Linked DNA regions of Homo sapiens: region 1 is linked to region 2. The links are contacts of gene promoters, found by promoter capture Hi-C in human tissues and cell types (Jung and others, 2019). All regions are on one chromosome and are shown on one strand. Each heading gives the region's core, a stretch centred on a gene start or on the middle of the fragment in contact. The rest is flanking DNA. Distances are from core to core; before and after follow the strand shown. Region 1 overlaps SFXN5 (sideroflexin 5). Region 2 holds the start of NOTO (notochord homeobox).

The links. Contacts are between HindIII fragments. The study calls those that stand out against the background at their distance.
Region 1: a contact is called between a fragment that was not itself captured here and the fragment with the promoter of NOTO in region 2, in 7 of the 25 tissues and cell types used here (H1 embryonic stem cells, IMR-90 fibroblasts, bladder and 4 more).

What each region holds. Positions count from the first base shown.
Region 1 is chr2:73,008,743-73,011,965 of GRCh38, reverse strand. All of the region lies in intron 6 of SFXN5 (sideroflexin 5), which reads left to right. LOC107985897 (a long non-coding RNA gene) reads left to right here. Exons shown (of 2, transcript XR_001739535.2): 1 at 1-2,783. Among named protein-coding and RNA genes, the nearest start is that of SFXN5, 61 kb to the left of the region's middle. The HindIII fragment of the contact is 3,728 bases long and covers 28-3,223 here.
Region 2 is chr2:73,201,265-73,204,258 of GRCh38, reverse strand. It overlaps NOTO (notochord homeobox), which reads right to left and starts at 1,685. Exons shown (of 3, transcript NM_001134462.2): 1 at 1,211-1,685. The coding sequence starts at 1,592. RefSeq lists an enhancer at 291-842. The HindIII fragment of the contact is 15,336 bases long and covers 1-2,994 here.

The sequences.
Region 1 (3,223 bases), core at 642-3,141, 190 kb after region 2:
ATTATTTGCTATTAGAAACGATTGTGCTGTGAAAAATCTTTGTAAAGCCATTTTTGCACAAGGATAAGGGTTTCTCAAGGGCACTTCCAGAAAGTGAATTTGCTGCATAAAAAGCTACACACATTTACATCTTTAACAGATATGGCTGAATTTCCCTTCAAAAAGACTATATTTCTCCATGCTTTTGTAACACTAGTATTCATTCATCTTTTTAACGTTTTTGCCAATCTGATGGGAGAAGGGGTAGATTCTCATTATACTTTAAATTTTTGTTTCCATAAACACCAAAAAGATGTTGGTGCTTTTTAAATCTATTTATTGGTGATTTGTATTCCCCCTTCTCTGAATTACCTGTTCACACTCTTTGTCCATTCTTCCATGGGCCATATTTTTCTAGTTGATTTGTAAGAGCTCTTTATGTATTTTGGACATTAATCCTTTGGATTATATATATGGCACGTCTCTTCTCCAGCTGTTTCTCCCTTATTCTCTGGTGTCTTTGTTATAGAAAAGTTTTAAATATTGATGTCTTTAAATATAATGATCTCTCTTTTGATTGATTTGAGTCTTTTTCCACTCCACACCTCCATCTCCTTTATTAAAATAACTGAGGCCAGGAGTGGTGGCTCACACGTGTAATCCCAGTACTTTGGGAGGCCAAGGTGGGAGGATTGCTTGAGCCCAGGAGTTTGAGACCAGTCTGGGCAACATAGGGAGATCCCATCTCTACAAAAAAGTTTAAAAATTAGCCAGGCATGGTGGTGTGCGCCTGTGGTCTCAGTTACTCAGGAGGCTGAGGTGGGAGGATTACTTGAGCTGAGGAGTTTGAGGCTTCAGTGAGTTTTGATTGTGCCACTGCACAATTGATTGATTTGTGAAAGCTATGTCGTGGAATCAGCTCTTGGATGTATTTATCAATTCTGTATTCTAATTATTCTTTTATGCTTTTGTTTTTATAATATCCTTTTTCCCTCCTTTCTTTGTTTGTGGTTGGTTTTCTTACTTTTTGCCTTGAATGCTTAGTTTATTTATTTTCCTTCTAATGAAAGTGTTTAGTGCTGTGAATTTGCCTCTGAATATATCTAAAACATGGCTATATCTGATATGTTTTCATATATAGTGATCTTATGTTGTTATTTTCTAAATAAGCTTGGAATTATAATTTCAAATCCTCTTTAGTCAATTAGAAGAACACATTTTAAATTCTAAGTGGTTGGGTTTTAAAAAATGTGTTCTTTTGTTATGTTCTAGCTTATCTTATTTTCAGAGAAAGTGACCTCTACAATTTTGCCAAATTTTGCCATTTGGGATTTATTGTGGTTTTCTTTGTAGCATGGTATCTGAATATGTCAGTTAGGATCAGGGTCATCTGCATGTAACAAAGTCCAAAATAACAGTGGCTTAAACAAAATAGTTTATTTCTCTCTTATGTCAAAGAAGTTTGGAGATAAGGAGGACCCCCACAATATCATCAGGAACCCAGACTTCCATTTTTCTACACCACCATTTTCAGTACTGGCTTCTATTGTAAAAAGTCACCCCATAGCCCGAGATGGCTGCTGGAGTTCCAGCCATCACATTCACATTCCAGAGAGGAGAAAGAAAAGAAGAATAGTAGGCTATATCTCCCAACCGAAATACATTTATCTTTAAGATACAGCCTCTCTTTAAGGAGCCTTTTGGGAATTTCCATGCAACATTCCATGTTCTGCATATATTTCATTCAGAATTTAGCTGGGTATATACATTTCATTTAGAATTTAGCTGGGTATATAGTTGATCCCCAATTATATAAGGATTCTATTAGTAAGAAAGAAGGGAAGAATGGTGATAGGCAAACAAGAATGCCATAATAACTTTTATAAATATTCCATCAACACTTTAAAAGATATACAATTTGGTGGTATCATCACTTTGTTAAACTGGGTAACTGGGTATTTGAAATGGCAAAAGTTGAATGTGGGGCTCATTTTTCCCTGAGAAGCCAAATGGACCCTTACACAATTATCAGCTGCCATCAAGTGGGAAGAACTGGCCAACCCAGCAGATGCCAGCACTGTCTTCCATTCACAAGGAGTTACTGAGGCTCACCCCATACGTTTCCACTCTCTCCTTACCCTACCCTAGACAAGCCCATCATTGCAGGGTCACTATGGCCCTGTAGGCAGGTGGGAGACTTGGATGCTGATCCACTCCCCTGCCATTCAGGGGTTCATTGCTGAAGCAGATGCTGTGAATGTCCTAACAGGACCGATCCTTTCCCAGCCTGGAGCAAGCATCCTTCTGTGAATAAACGCATGTGGTGTAAGAAGAGGATGCCCTGGCCCCCAAGATCCTGTGTGAATACTTGATGGAGGCGAAATGGGGAGCATGGCCTGGGATACCTCCCAGCAGCTCTACGAGGCAGCCAGAACTGAAATGACAATGCTCACCTATCCCCACTTCCTAGCCCCAGATATCTGTATCCTGAGGTTCAGAACAGTCAAGCCAGAGGCTGAGTCTCCAGAGGAACCACTGGATTTGAAGAACCTGGGCCTCCCACCTTGGCACTTTCACATGGACAAGCAACATGGTCCGTCACCACTCCTCCCCACCCCTGGGCCACTGCCTCGTCTTGTGTGGAAAGAGCATGCTGGCTGCTCCAGTGCTTCCTGCAGCCCCATCAGCTTCTCCAAGGCCCTGCTGTCGCCTGGTAGCACTGAACATTTAAGCAAATGCCTGGTCTGAAGGGGAGTGAAGGTTCCAGTCCACACCTTAGGAAAGCCCCTGGTCTGATGGAGTGGGTAAGAAAATATACGCATGCAGAAGCCACTAAAAATGCTTACCAAAATAGAAACGAGGGTGCCAGCGAATGTGCTAGGAACTGGGTCCCTGAGTGATGAAGGGAAGGGGCGAGTAAGGCTGGCAGGTGCCTCAACTGAGAAGCTTCTGGAAACCACAGTCAAGCTGCCTTCTGCCCAGGTGCACATCCCCAGCTTGACCCCTACGCTGTTTCCACTTTGCCCGGGAGTCACCTCGCCCTACCCTGCTCGCCCCCCAGAGCTCAGGAGAAACGAGCTGGTTTTCTCCCAGAGGCTGGTGCCAGTTTAGTCAGCAGATTTCACAGATCCACTGGCAACCATGTAGTGTCTTATTTTAAGCTTAACATTTGAAGATGGGAACTTTTTCCCCCTTCGGTGTGTGGCAAAGAGATCCCAATTTATACATAAGCACCGCGGCTATG
Region 2 (2,994 bases), core at 436-2,935:
TTGCCCAGGCTAGAGTGCAGTGGCGCAATCTCGGCTTAATGCAACCTCAACCTCCCGGGTTCAAGTGATTCTCCTGCTTTAGCCTCCTGAGTAGCTGGGATTACAAGCGCGCGCCACCACGCCCTCCTAATTTTTTGTCTTTTTTTTTTTTTTTTTTTTTGAGACGGAGTTTCGCTCTGTCGCCCAGGCTGGAGTGCAGTGGCGCGATCTCGACTCACTGCAAGCTCCGCCTCCCGGGTTCACGCCATTCTCCTGCCTCAGCCTCCTGTGTAGCTGGGACTACAGGCACGCGCCACCATGCCCGGCTAATTTTTGTATTTTTAGTAGAGACGGGGTTTCACCGTGTTAGCCAGGATGGTCTCGATCTCCTGACCTCGTGATCCGCCCGTCTCGGCCTCCCAAAGTGCTGGGATTACAGGCGTGAGCCACCGCGCCCGGCCAATTTTTTGTCTTTTAAGTAAAGATGTGGTTTCACCATGTTGGCCAGGCTGGCCTTGAACTCCTGACTTCAGGTGATCCACCCGCCTCGGTCTTCCAAAGTGCTGAAATTACAGGCGTGAGCCACCGCGCCCAACCTTACAATTACTTTCTCATGAGATTTAAGTGCCTGGCCCTTAAGCACTACTTAAGAGCATTGCATGCACGCAGGCTCAGAGCGAAGTGTGTAGCTCAAGTTCACAGACGTGAGCAGTGGAGGCGGTAGTGGGGTGTGAGCCTTGACCAGCTCCTAACAGCTCCTCGCTCAACAGCACCGCCCGGAGCGTCCACTTCCCCCTACCCCGTAAAAAAAAAAAACAGGGCCATTGGTTCGGGTCGAGAGCCGCTTTGGGAAGCGTCTCTGTCACTAAGCGCTACCCCGGGGTGTGCGAGGGAGTCAAGGGACGCGGAGACCGGGAGCAGGGCTGGGTCCCCTTGCAGCCCCAGCGCTGGCCTCCTGCCCACCGCATTCAGGCGCTGCGCCGCCCTCACACCCACCCTCTCCCACCTCAGCAGCGTGCGGGGGAAGCCTCGCGCCGGGGTCTTTTTCAGCAAGACTGTCGCGGTCCTCGGCTTCAACTGCAAGGTAAACGGTGGCAGAGCCCCTTCCCACTCCAGCCGTGTGTGATTCTCACACTCAGTGCCCTCTCCTGCACTGGGGCGCCGGCAGTGGCGACCTAGGCTCTCCAGCCCCCGCCCAGTCCCCCGCGTGCGGGCGCCGGGACCGCAGTACCTGTGACGCCGAAGCCCAGCAGGCCGCAGACGGGAGCCACGCGCGGCCCTGGCACAGGGTAAAAACCTACGCTCAGGTAGGCGGGCAGCCACGATGTCGGGCAAGCCCAGGGCAGACCCCCGGTGGCGCACAGGGAAGCAGCGGTCCAGAAGGCCGGGTGGACGCAGGCGGAGCCCGACGGCTGGGAGGCCGCCGGCGCGCAGGGGTCGGGCCTCGCCAGGATGGCCTCGACCGAGAAAGGGGACTCGAAGCGTCCGGGAGCGCGGGGCGTGTTCGGGCCAGTAGGGGACCTGGGCGCCGGAGAGCGGCCAGAGCGCGGAGGTCGGACCCGAGAGCCCGAGGGAGCGGGTGGCGGGCTGCCTCGCGGCCTGGGGCTAGGCATGACGCGGCCGTTGCCCGGACGGACGCAAGGAAGGGAGCTCGGGAGAAGTGAGAAGATTCTGCAAAAGGCAGCGAGCAAGACCGGTTGTCTGGGAACCTCCTGGCGCTCGGCGAAGGCTCTTAAATTTGGCGGGGCGGGGCATGGGGCGGCCTCTCCCCACTGCGGTCCGGGCGGGGCCCCCAAAGCCTGTGAGCGCCCGCTCTGTGCGAGGCAAGGTGGGCACAGCACCAAAGAGTGTGTTCCCTCCCTTCCTCCGCTTTTAAAAATGCCCACCCTGGGGCGGTCGTGGGGAGGACTCTGAGCTCGCTGGTGATCCTGGGCGAAACACCCAGCCACCGGGCTCCGTCTTTCTCCTTTGCTCACTGAAGAAGGGATGCCCGTTTCCCCGGGGCCTTGCAGAGGCGGAGCTGTGATCTGGAGAGCGGTAGGGCAGTGCCTGCGGTCTTGGCCTCAGCTGACCCGCGCCGTCCTTGACGCAGAAGCCTCGGCCAGATTCACCTAGGACCGCGCGGACTTTTTGTTTGTTTGTTTTAAAATGTAAATATTTTATTTATAAGCACAGTGATAAGTACATTTTCCATCTGGCCTCAGCCCTTTAGTTTCCCTGCCTTGAGATGCGCTGTGATTACCAATTTCGTTCTTTCTTTAATATTTTTTTTGGCCAGGTGCAGTGGCTCATGCCTGGCATCCCAGTACTTGTGTGGGAGGCCGAGGCGGGAGGATCGCTTGAGCTCAGGATTTGATTTGATTTGATTTGAGTTGATTTAGGGGTAAAAGATATGGCCACTATGTCTCTAACCTTGGACTTTTAGTATATAATTCTGTGTTTCCATACATAATTATCAGTTTTCTGTTGTGTCATTTATTCCTTCTTCAGACTGTAAATTCCTGAGCATAAGCATTAATATCTCCAATTTACATATTAGTAAATACAGCAAGAGAGGTTAACAGAACTGCCTTGTTTCAAATCCCCTAGGTATGTGGTTTTAATTTGCATTTATTTCCCTGAAGACCGTTCATTGTGAGCATCTTTTTACATGCTTATCAGCCACTTGGATATCCTCTTTTGTGTGAAGTGCCTGTTCAACTGGTTTGCTTATTTTTGTATTGGGTCACTATGTTTTTCTTATTGTAAGAGTTTTATGTATAGATAATTTGGAATCAAGTCCTTCGTTGTAATATACATAGAAGCAGATAACCTCTGTCACTCTGTGGCCTGCCTTTTCATTCTTTTAGTAGTCCTTTTTTTTTTTTTTTCTGAGATGGAGTTGCCCAGGCTAGAGTGCAGTGGCACAATCTTGGCTCACTGCAACCTTTGCCTCCCAGGTTCCAGCGATTTTCCTGCTTCAGTAGCTGGGATTACAGGCATGTGCCACCACACCCAGCTAATTTTTGTTAAGTA